Linked DNA regions of Homo sapiens: region 1 is linked to region 2. The links are contacts of gene promoters, found by promoter capture Hi-C in blood cells and fetal thymus (Javierre and others, 2016). All regions are on one chromosome and are shown on one strand. The core of a region is centred on a gene start or on the middle of the fragment in contact, and the rest is flanking DNA. Distances in the headings are between cores, read along the strand shown.

Evidence for each region. The method cuts DNA at HindIII sites, captures the fragments that hold promoters and counts their contacts. A CHiCAGO score of 5 or more calls a contact.
Region 1: a fragment that was not itself captured here is called in contact with the fragment with the promoter of ZNF74 in region 2 in 2 of 17 cell types (M0 macrophages and non-activated CD4 T cells); the score reaches 7.7 in M0 macrophages.

What each region holds. Positions count from the first base shown.
Region 1 is chr22:20,285,838-20,292,055 of GRCh38, forward strand. No RefSeq gene overlaps it. Among named protein-coding and RNA genes, the nearest start is that of RTN4R, 21 kb to the left of the region's middle. RefSeq lists a silencer at 1-53. The HindIII fragment of the contact is 7,595 bases long and covers 1-5,050 here.
Region 2 is chr22:20,390,827-20,396,932 of GRCh38, forward strand. It overlaps ZNF74 (zinc finger protein 74), which reads left to right and starts at 3,325. Exons shown (of 5, transcript NM_003426.4): 1 at 3,325-3,836; 2 at 4,507-4,592. The coding sequence starts at 3,803. RefSeq lists enhancers at 2,435-3,424, 2,826-2,895, 3,366-3,505. The HindIII fragment of the contact is 14,387 bases long and covers 1-6,106 here.

The DNA of each region.
Region 1 (6,218 bases), core at 3-2,502, 110 kb before region 2:
TTGCATGCAGGGTGGCCACATCCCGGCCTGGTGAGTGCCGGCCACTCAGTTCTGTGGCCCTCTGCTGCCCTCTGCCGGCCGCCTCTGTCCCTGCAGGCCCAGCCATCTACCTGCAGGTCTGGACAGACCCTCAGAGCCTAGGCTGGGAGGTCTCAGGAGTCAAGACAGGGTTGAATCCCATTTGAGGGCATCTGAAGGAGTGAGAGCCTATGTCAATCCCCTGCCCAGCCTTGCCTCGGCCAGTGGCTCCCAGGGGACTCTGGTGGGCAGTGGCTAAAGATGACAGAGGGGCTCAGAGAGGCTGAGCTGCTCTGTAAGGTTGCACAGTGAGCAGGGGCCGAGTGGCCTTGGGAGAGGCAACAGCAGGAGGGTCCTCGTCATGGCCACAGCCCAGGGACAGGAAACCCCTGCTGGGTTCCCCCACCAAGTAGCTCCCATTCCCAGCCCTTAGGGTGTCTCAGGAGAGGTTCCGGGGGAGGTCCCACCTGCCTCCTGCCTTCTCCCCCAACCACACCCTAAATGGGTCCCAGCTCCCCAGCCCCTCCCACAAGGGCTCACCCGCCAGAGCTCGGGGAGAGGCCCTGCAGGGCGGCTGTTCCTCCGTGTGCTGCAGTCCTCTGGACACTGAAAGCCAATCCCATCCATCTTAATGGCATTTAATATGCACAGTGAAAGTCAGCAGCCACAGCCACGGGCGTGTGCTCAGGGCAAGGTTTACACGCGGATGCCACCAGGCTTAGCCCATGAGTGGCCTCCTGGGTCCCAGGAGACCTGTGGGGTGGGGGTGCAGCTGGGTGGGCCATGGTAGCAGAGACCTGGGGAGGGGATGTGGGAGGTAGGAACTGGGCTAGGCAGGGACTCAGGGGAGGCTGAGGCCTGGAACAGGGAGACTGAGACCTCAAGGAGGCTGGGACATTGGGAGTCAAGACTTGGGGAAGCTGGAACATGGGCAGGCCGAGACGCAGGGGTTTAAGAATGAGGGTCTGGTGCAGACCTGAGTTGGAGCCCAGCCGCTGCTGGCCCCACGTAGCTGGAGAGTGTGCTGACCCCATGGTGGCTAGAGAATGTGCTGTTGGTAGGGAAGGCAAGTGCTGGGAAGGGAAAAGTGTGGTCCATTTAAATGATACGGAAGCAGGGGAGGGAAGTGCTGGGTAGAGGAGGGCATGGTCCCAGACTAGGGCTCCAACCCCACGGACCTAGGTGAGAACAGGCACTTCCTACCCAAATGTTGCATTTCTCACGACCACCCTAGCCTGCCACGCCCCCATCCTGTGCTTATAAAATCCCCCGAGACCTTAGCAGGCAGACACAGGCAGCTGGACGTGGAGAGGAACACATCAGCGGAGACACACACGGGCGGCTGGATGTCGAGATGAACGCACTGATAGGCACCGGCATGCTGGCAGGCCACTGACTGGCAGAACCACACGGAGTTTGGCTGGGGCAGTTGGAGGACAGCCCGGGTGCACAGCGGCCCCACTCCAGGGGAAAACCTTCCCACTCCACCCCCTTCTAGCTTCCCCTATCTGCTGGGAGCCACCTCCCCTCAATAAAACCTTGCACTCATTCTCCAAGTCCACGTGTGATCTGACTCTTCTGGTACACAAAGGCAAGAACCCCAGGATCCAGAAAGCCCTCTGACTAACACAAGCCACCCTACAGACGACAAACTAAAAAAGCCCCCGTGACACACGCCCACTGGGGCTTCAGCTGTAAACCTTCACCCCTAGACACTGCTGTGGGGTCGGAGCTCCACAGCCTGCCCGTCTGTAAGCTCCCCTAGAGGTTTGGGCAGCAGAGCACTGAAGAAGCGAGCCACTCCCCTTCTCACACACCCTGCTAGGGCAACAAGGGAACTTTTTCCGTTTCACTGGCCCAAGGTGGCTGGACAGTGTGCTGGCCCCACGGTAGCTGGAGAGTGTGTCGCGCTCCCTGGCTTTCCTCCTGATGTATAAAATGAGTTAGCGGGTCCTGGGGGCTGTTCCCACAGTGACGTGGTGGAGGCTGACCCTGACACCCACCCCTGCTGAATGCTCAGTGAATGGTGGTTGCTGTCAGGAAGCATCATTGCTGTCCTCCATCAGTGTCTGTGGGGCTAGGTGACTCTTGGAGGATGCTTCCAGCAACGTTGCACTGCCAAGACAGAGGCCGTCCACCTGCCTCTGGGCTTCCTGGTGTGAACAGATGGATGGATGCGTGGGCCTGCTGCGTGCAGGGAGCTGAGGCTGGGTCTTCACCTATGGGCAGGAGGCTACACAGGGCTCTGGGAGAGACAGCACTGTGGCTGGGACAGAGCCCATGTGATGAGATGCCCTCGGTGCCCCTGGCCTCCCTCCTCGCTCCTGCCCCTCTGGAACATCACCCAGAGCCCCCCTTGCTCTTTTGGGGGATGTCTGGGTGTCTGCGGTTGCTGTCACTCTTGATCCCACCCACCCACCCCTGCAGGTTGCTGGCAGGACAAGTGCAGGAGTCATCTCATGGCTTTCCCTGGGATCTCTGTACCCGCTGAGAGCCGGGAGCTGCACACAGCCTGTCCACCATCCTGGGAACTCACCCTGTTGCTGCCGCTTGTCCTGGGTCATCCTGGGGCTCACTCCTTGCCATTCAGACCCCTGTGAGGAGAGCACTGGCTGTGAGTTGCTCTGTGGCTAGTGATGGCAAGGCAGGGCCTGGAGTAGATCCATCACGAATAGTTCTTTTTTTTTTTTTTTTTTTTGAGATGGAGTCTCGCTCTGTCACCAGGCTGGAGTGTGCGATCTCGGCTCACTGCAACCTCCGACTCCCTGGTTCAAGCAATTCTCCTGCCTCAGCCTCCTGAGTAGCTGGGATTAAAGGCACATGTCCCTATGCCCAGCTAATTTTTGTATTTTTAGTAGAGATGGGGTTTCACCATGTTGGCCAGGACGGTTTCGATCTCCTGACCTCGTGATCCACCTGCCTCAGCCTCCCAAAGTGCTGGGATTACAGGTGTGAGCCACGGTGCCCAGCTGAGAATTCTTAATGAAATGGGAACATGCCTCCCACGAAATGCACAGGGGCCTGCAGTGATAGAGTGGCCTCAGGTATGTGCACAGGTGTGAACACGCCTTCCACAGAGGGCAGTGGACGTGCACATGCCTCACACACACTGTGGCGCAGGGCAAGTGTCCCACATGTGTTCATGCTTGCGCACATGTCAGTGGGCTGGATGTGTGTGTGCACACCTGTGTCATGCCTGCAGAGAAGACAGTGGAGAGAAATATGCCCAAATCTCCCCTCTGGGTCCCTGCCCTGGGTGCTGGGATGTCAGAACAGGTCGATGTCCTTTTATCCTTCCCCATATCCACCACGCTGTCTACCAAAGCACGCTTTAGTTTTATAATCAGAAATGAAATGCACCGTTTCAAGAAAGCCATGGGCCAGCCCCTCTGTGCCCTGGTGTTGGCGGGGGCAGAGGGGTGGGGTGTGTAGGGGGAGATTAGCCTCATGCAGCCGTGGGGCCAGGGAGGCCAAGGTCAGCTTGCTCAGCACCTGGAGGTACAGCGAGTACCAACAACACAGCCTAGCTTGACCGCGGAAGGAAAATCAATGCTGGGCGCAAGGACTGACGGCAGACTCACTGGGAACACTGTCCACCGACGTCAGAGCTGCTCACAGGGCACCGGGAGCTTGCCAGCGAGCTTGGCTGCCTGTGTTTGGAACAACCCTGGTGGGCGAGCACGGGCCCCTCACCTGACTCCACTCAGTGCCCTTCCCAGAGGGGAGACAAAGGCTGTGAACAGCTCTGGAGGCCCTCCCTGCCAGTGCCCCCCAGGCCTGGCTAAAGAAATCTCAAATACCCCGAAGGGCCTGGCTCCAGCGGCCCCTGCTATGGGTCAGCCTCAGGGGGATGCTCATCTTCAATTGACCCTGACTGTTCCACATTACAAGATAAACTGTGGGGTTAACTCAAGGCGGTATTACTTTGTAAAGACTGCTCTTTATACAAGAGCGGTGGATGCAAAAACAAAAACATTGCCATGTAAGACGGGAGTCCTCCGAGTCCTGTCTTCCTCCATTCCGTGTCCTTGCACCCCATCCATGTGTGGCCTGCATGGACAGACAGCTTCACACACTCAGACTCTTCCCTCCCCACGCATCAGAGATGTGTGTCCCTGTTACTGACATGCAGGGAGGGGCTCATCATCTTGGGCACACCCCATGGTGCTCTGAGCCCATCATCACCTATGGTGGACGTTGAAGGAGTTCCCAGGTTTTCCTTTTCAGGAGCCATGGCTCGGGCCAGTGCCTAGGAGGTCAGAGGTTGGGGGCCCAGGGAGAGGTCACTGCCCAACCGTGCCACCTTGGACTCAGAGTGCCGGCCCAGGGAACCAGGCAGGCCCGGCTCTGACCGTGCCGCTGGGCGACCGCTGGCTGAGACCTGGGGCTGAAACACATCCCACATCAGCCAAGGAAACAGGCTCTGCATGAGGCCTGAAGCCCCTGAAGGGCTCTGGGACAGGAGGAGAGCCCAAGCCTTCAGCTGTGATGTGCACAGCACCGTCTGTCCTCCACCCAAGGGAACTCACCTTGGTGACCCTGCTGGAAGGCACAGGTTGCTGACATTCTGACCCCTGACATTCGGACCTCCAGCAGAGCCTGCAGTTTGAGACCTCTGGTTCAGGAGCTGGGACTGATGGGGCCCTTGGGGATTCCCGTGCTGCTGGAGGAAGATGGGGGCATGGGGGTGTCCACAGCAAAGAAGTGAGAAGTAGAGGCCGCCAGCCCCCCGCCCCGACCCTTCCCTGGCTAGAGTGGGGCAGGCTTGGGGGTGAGTCTGGGGTGCTGATTTCACCCTCCTGGGCCAAAGTCTCCCCGTGACTTTATGGACTGTCTCCCTGTGCTCCCTGAGACCCTGGTTCTCCCTCACCAGCCTGGGTCCTTCTTGTCTCAGCTCAGCTGTCACCTCCTCCGGGAAGCCCCCAAGCCCTTGAGTGGGTGCCCAGCAGGCATGGTCAGTGCTGAGGCTACAAGCCCTGCCGGCACCCGGCAGGGAACACAAGGCCAGGTCAGGCTCTGGGGACAGTAGACAAGCTTATCCCTGCACACTGGGGACTGCCCACCTGGGGGAGAGAGCTAGGTCAGGCTGGGGAGACGTCAGGGGATGGCCGGGCACCCCTCCCTGAGGAGAGCTCCACCTGAGCAAGAGTGTCACCAGGCCCACTCCAGACACATGCACTGCCTCAGACGGGCTGGAGAGAGGGTGTGGCCGGGCCATGGGATGAACCATTCTGGGCGGTTGTCCTGGCATCACCAGACATGTGGCTCTATTAAGCATCTCGACTCCACAGGAGCCCATGTGGCATGTCCTCTGACCTCCTGTTCACTTCTGAAAGGGGCGGCCCTCTGAGATTCTGCCTGGAACCTGTCAGCCCTCCTGACAAGGTCTCTGGTTCCCGGCCATCACAGGCACCCAGCCACCCTACAGAGAGGCTCTGGGAGGCTCAGCCTTGCCTGGGGCCCCAAGACTGATGCCAGCTGGGGCATCTCACAGGGAGCACCCCTACCTGTAAACCGCCCAGCTCAAGCCCTGCCTCGACCTCTCCAAGTCAGCAGCCGACCTTCCCCAGGGCCCCTCCCAGCCTGCAGGGGGTCTGAGGCTCTGAGGCTTTTCTGCAGCCTCTCAGTCCCCCACCCTGCTACCTGCTCAGGCAGAGAGATCATGGCTCTGGGTTATTGTGTGCTTAGTGGGTGCTGGAGCTCGTGCTAAACAACTTGGGTGCCCCCTGAATCTTGACAATAATCTGAGGGGGCATTATTATTACTATTCTCACTTCCCCGAGGAAGAAGTCCCAAACCCCGTCTGGCACAAAGCCAGCGCCCCGAGTCTCCCTCTGCAGTCCATGTGCTCCCACGTGGGGCATGCCTGGGACATCACAACATCTGGGGTCAATGCGGCTGCTGTTGTCACTGTGGCATTCAGCTTTCCCAAGGCTCACATCTGCTCCATCCAGCAAAGGGGTCTTGCACCCCAAGCCTGCCTCCCTCTTCACACACACAATCCCACTTCGTCAACCACAAAGATGCATGGGTTTACCCAGCCTCAACCCCATCGGCCCCTCCCCTTCCAGTTGCCGGAGGGCTCGGGCCCCTTCAGCTGGGCTCCCACATTCCTGACCCCTGGCCTGCAGGCCCTCAAGACTATGCCAGCCCGGGCTCACCTGGTGCCAGACACCTGCATCTCCCTGGGGTGGGGGTTG
Region 2 (6,106 bases), core at 2,075-4,574:
CATCCACAATCTACAGAGATGAACTGCAGAGTTACATGCACAGATATGCCAGTCATACATTCAGATCTGTGTAAACAGTGAGGCACACACACACATACACATGTGCACTTATACAGAAAGACTCAGACCCAGCCAGGCATGGTGGCTCAGGCCTGTAATCCTAGCACTTTGGGAGGTCGAGGCGGGTGGATCACGAGGTCAAGAGATTGAGACCATCCTGGCTAACATGGTGAAACCCCATCTCTACTAAAATTACAAAAAAATTAGCCGGGTGTGATGGCGGGCACCTGTAGTCCCAGCTACTCAGAAGGCAGAGATTGCAGTGAGCTGAGATTGCGCCACTGCACTCCAGCCTGGACAACAGAGCGCGACTCCATCTCAAAAACAAAAAAAGAAAGACTCAGACCTGACCTGTTAGTCAACAGCCAGATGCCAACAGATAATCACATTAGACTCATCAGCAAGCACACCGTGCACACAAGTTCCACTCCCATGTACAGGTTCCTGTCCCATGTACACAAGCCTGCACACAAACACGTATCCAGACTCCAGAACTGTTGAGACAGTGCCCACATACACACTCATAGAGTCACCTGTGCACAGGTGCACGTACACATTGTTTCACAGAGGCACACCAGGACAGAAACACATAAGAAATGTGAGGCAAAAGCGGACCCACACCTACACCTGTAAGATACACAGAGAAACAAACACATACACAAACTTACACATAGACTCATGCACTGTGTAATCAACAGTTCTATACCCCACCAAGGCTCTTGTCCTGGTGTGTCCAGAATTGGTGGGTTCTTGGTTTCACTGACTTCAAGAATGAAGCCACAGACCCTCGTGGTGAGTGTCACAGTTCTTAAACGCAGCGTGCGCGGAGTTTCTTCCTTCTGGTGCGTTCGTGGTCTCGCTAGCTTCAGAAGTGAAGCTACAGACCTTCGCAGTGTTAACAGCTCATAAAGGCAGCGTGGACCCAAAGAGCTAGACACAAAAGTTCTCCACGTCCCCACTAGATTAGCTAGATACAGAGTGTCCACTGGTGCATTCACAAACCCTGAGCTAGACACAGAGTGCTGATTGGTGCATTTACAAACCTTGGGCTAGATACAGAGTGCCAATTGGTGTATTTACAATCCCTTAGCTAGACATAAAGGTTCTCCAAGTCCCCACCAGAGTAGCTAGATACAGTGTTGATTGATGCATTCACAAACCCTGAGCTAGACACAGAGTGCTGATTGGTGTGTTTACAAACCTTGAGCTAGATACAGAGTGCCGATTGGTGTATTTTCAACCCCTTAGCTAGACATAAAGGTTCTCCAAGTCCCCAGCAGAGTAGCTAGATACAGTGTCGATTGATGCATTCACAAACCCTGAGCTAGACACAGGGTGCTGATTGGTGTGTTTACAAACCTTAAGCTAGACACAGAGTGCCCACTGGTGTATTTACAATCCCTTAGCTAGACATAAAGGTTCTCCAAGTCCCCACCAGACTCAGAAGCCCAGCTGGCTTCACCCAGTGGATCCCGCACCGGGGCCGCAGGTGGAGCTGCCTTCCAGTCCCGCGCCGTGCGCCCGCACTCCTCAGCCCTTGGGTGGTCGATGGGACTGGGCGCCGTGGAGCAGGGGGCGGCGCTTGTCGGGGAGGCTTGGGCCGCGCAGGAGCCCACGGCGGTGGGTAGGCTCAGGCATGGCGGGCTGCAGGTCCCGAGCCCTGCCCCGCGGGGAGGCAACGAAGGCCCGGCGAGAAGTCGAGCACAGCAGCTGCTGGCCCAGGTGCTAAGCCCCTCACTGCCCGGGTCCGGCTGGCAGCTCCGAGTGCGGGGCCCGCTGAGCCCACGCCCACCCGGAACTCGTGCTGGCCCGCAAGCGCTGCGCGCAGTCCCGGTTCCCGCCCGCGCCTCTCCCTCCACACCTCTCGGCAAGCTGAGGGAGCCGGCTCCGGCCGCAGCCAGCCCAGGAAGGGGCTCCCACAGTGCAGCGGTGGGCTGAAGGGCTCCTCAAGCGCGGCCAGAGTGGGCGCCAAGGCCGACTAGGCGCCGAGAGCGAGCAAGGGCTGTGAGGACTGCCAGCACGCTGTCCCCTCTCACTGGGTTGCTATTAAAAATGGGCGCTGAATATAAAAATTAACCGGGCGTGGTGGTGCATGTCTGTAAGTCCCAGCTACTCCGGAGGCTGAGGTGGGAGAATAGTTTGAGCCCGAGAGACTGAGGCTACGGTGAGCCGTGATTGTGCAACTGCACTCCAGCCTGGGCGACAGAGTGAGACCCAGTCTCAAAACAAAATCAAACACGGGCGCTGCCCTGGGCAGGGGAGGTCTGGGCACAGCTGTGCTGATGTGGGCAGTGGACAGGTGTCACGTGAGAGCCTGTGGCCAAGCCTAAGCTGCGGTTAAGGTGGGAGGCTGAAGGGTTTGGAGTGTGCACCACCCCGGACCACCTCTCAGTAGGAATGTGGCAATGCACTTCGGTGCTGGATTCCTACTTCTGGCTGTGTGATTTGCGACACGTTACCCCACGCACCTGTACCACAACTTCCTCATCTCCCAAATGGGATGACAGTAGTTAGCAAACCTCCCTGGACTGCTGTGAGCATTCTGCCAGAAAAATGTACTCCAAGCTCTTGAAGTAGGCCTGGCGTTTGGTTGGTGCTCAGTACATATTCAATGTTTCTGTCGCTGGCGTCATCACTGTGTTCATGGCAGAGCTCTGTGCCGCCAGGACTGGGCCGCCACCCAGACCTTCCTTTCCCGCCCCAGGGGTGAACTGTGGACAGGACCCTCTGGGGGGACTAGGCCAAGGCTCTCCCACCTCTGGGGACCCGCGCCCATGGGCCTCAGATATGTGGCTCGAGAAGGGGGAGTGGGGGCAGGGCCCCTGGAAAACCCCTCGAGGCCAGACCCACCACTCCCAATATCCGTAAGACCAGGGGCTTGAGTCTTTCCTGCAGACAGATGTGGGCAGGAACCCACCCGACTCCCAGCTACGTGGGGACGTGGACGAACTAACAGGACAAATTCTAGTTCCTGGACACCGCCCTCCCAGTATCCTCGCAATTAGACACCCATGCAGCGGCACTACACTGATCCGCACACGGAGATACACAGCGACATCCGCCCGCAAGAGCATGGTGGGTGCCGGAGCTCCCGGCTGTGGGCCCAGGAACTACATTTCCTAGAAGGATGTGCTAGATACTCGTTCGCGTCGGGACGCAAGCACCGGCCCGAACTCGCTCTAGGAAATGGAGTCTGACGCCTGCGCGGCGCAAACGCTCCCGGGAGGTGTAGTTTGCGCCTATTTCGCGCAGGCGCGCTTTCCCGCAGCGGCCGCCTGCTGCTCTTTGTGGCAGTCGCAGTCCTTTTGTGGGAGTCCGGTCTGTCCACTTGCCGGTCCCTCAGACCGTCGGCGGTCTCTGTCCGCTTCGGGACCTGTCCGCTGGTCGCTCCGCGTCCGATGGCTCCTGGCCGCGGAACCTTAGGCCTGGCCCTGGTCTCCGAGCGCGGGTTCGCCGGGAGGAGCGTGTGGCGGGGGTGTGCCGGGGCGTGAGTGCGCCGAGCATGGGGCTGAGCCTGGTGTGGGGAGTGGGTATCTGCGGAGCCGGCCTGAACCCCACCTCAGCCGGGCGCGGGGAGGGGGCTCCGTGCGTGTGATCGTGCAGCTGTGAGCGCGTGGCCGCCCCGCGGGGCTCCGCTGCAGGCCCCTCAGCCCCAGGAGCAGTACTCGCTCTTCAGGGCCTGCCCTGGATCCTGGAGGCTACACAGCTGCCCACTCCTCCTGGGGAGGCTGCCGTGGAGGCCATGGAGATCCCTGCCCCGGAGCCCGAGAAGACAGGTACAGCTTCACTCTTGTAGTCAGTATGTCTGTGGATTTGCACTTGAGGATATTGACACTCAGAGAGATCAGGCCAGTTTCCCAGAAGCATCCAGCATCTTTTTTTTTTTTTTTAAATGGAATCTCACTCTGTCACCCAGGCGGGAGTGGTGCAATGGCTTGATCTCCGCTCACTGCAACCTCTGCTTCCCGGGTTCAAACTATTCTCCCGCCTCAACCTCCCAAGTAGTTGGGATTGCAGGCGCGCGCCACCACGCCCGGCTAATGTTTGTATTTTTAGTAGAGACGGGGTTTTGCCATGTTTCCCAGGCTGGTCTTAAGCTCAAGCGATCCGCCCGCCTCGGCCTCCCAAAGTGCTGGGATTACAGGCGTGAGCCATCGCTCCTGGCCTCCTGCTTCTTTCTTCCCCGCGCCCAATCATTTGTTCCCACTCAGACGTGCTTGATTGGGGGTAGCAGCTCTTTTCGTCATGAATTGGAGTGTCTGAGACACAGGCAGATTATTCCTCGATGCTGTTTCTGTTGGTGCTAGCTACTGGGGCTCGTTCCCCACCTGGCCTTGCTGGCAGGTTCTGCCTCCTCTCTGATTCTCACTTGTGCCACGACAGGTGGGCTTTAAGCTCAGCCGTGAGCCTGGTAGCCGTGACCTTGACTCATTTCTCCTTCGCCAGCTCTTTCCTCTCAGGATCCTGCTCTTTCCCTGAAAGAGAATCTCGAGGATATATCGGGTTGGGGTCTTCCCGAAGCCAGGTCCAAGGTGAGTGGCTGTGTGTTCTTCCTTCTTTATGAAGAGGGTTGGCACATTCCCTCCCCAGCCCTGGATCGTCAGCCTTCCACAGACCTTCACCCGGGTACCTGCTGGCCAGTCCTCAGGAAGCTCTGGGCAGTGGGAACAGCTCCAAGTGAAGAGTCCAGATGTTGCCCGAGGTGTGCCCTCGAGATGTGCTCTATTGAATGTCTCGCCCAGTCCAATTCAGTGGGTCAGTTGCTGGGGATCTCTCTGCCCAGCGCTGTGCTGGGAGCTCTGAGGAGTGGTTTTAGTGGAATCTGAGAAAGTAGTTGACGGCTCACATGGGGTCGCTTTGCCTATCCACGTGCTGGCCAGGGGTTGGTGCAGGATGTTTGCACGGTTGGTTTACTGGGACTGGAATCAGACAGGGGCACGTGGAGCAGCTCAGGAAGGGCTGGATTGCAGCACTTGGTTAAGAGTGGCGGTAGGGGACACATCCCTGTGTGCTTTCCTCTGTACCCAGCCCCTGGCATGGGGCCTTCATGGAGAGTCCTGGAGATTTAGAGAATCTGGGGGCTCAGCAAGGAATTGGCCCTGGGAACTTCTGCAGCCAAATGGGACCCAGATCCCTCCTTTTACAGACTGTGAACTCTGTTCCTCATTTTGTTTTTCTACCGCAACCACCTCACCCCATGGTTGTATTTAGAAGGGTGCAGTTGACAAAGAGAGCACAGTAGAGTGAAAGATGTGGAGGAATAAGGGGTCTTTGGGTTTTTGTTTTTTTTTTAGCATTTTGTGATTTTGTCAGTCTGCCACTCAAAAGAGGTGATGGCAGATTATAGCCAGCTAGAAACAGCTGCAAAACGTGTATTGTGAGCTGTGCCTCACTTCTGTAGTGTGTCACAATGCTTTATAGTCCTCAAGAAACTTGACAGTCAAATGCAATGCATGTTCCTTGCTTAGGGGATAGATCCAAAAAAATTGATAAAGGGCAGTTTGGGACAAGAGGAAATTTGAAAATGGGCTGTATCTTAGGTCATATTGTATCAATATGAAATTTATTGCATGTGATAATAGTACTGTGATTATGTAAGAGAATATCCACAGGAGATACAAGCTGAAGACTGTAGAGTGAGACATCATGATGTCTGCAACTTACCTTCAAATGGTTCAGCAAAAAAAAATGTGTGTGCATGTATGTATGTCTGTATGTGTCTGTGCAGCTCCGTCTAGGTGGTAGGGCCCTCATGCATGTGTTATTCCTATTCCTAAAATATTAGCTTGTTAGATCTTTGAATAACCAGTTGACTCTCCTGAGTACACATCAGCTTTGGCATTTTCTCTTGACAGTCTCATTCTCACTCACAGTTCAAGTTGTTCTGTCTCCTGGGACATCTTGTGTGGTCTGTTCTGACTTCTCTGCTAGTGTCATTACCACATCAGCATCTGATTCCAATGCATACTGTCTGGGTTTTTTATTCCTTTCCCTGCAGAATGATGACACATTAGACATGGACTTCTCCCAGTGGCCAGAAATACCC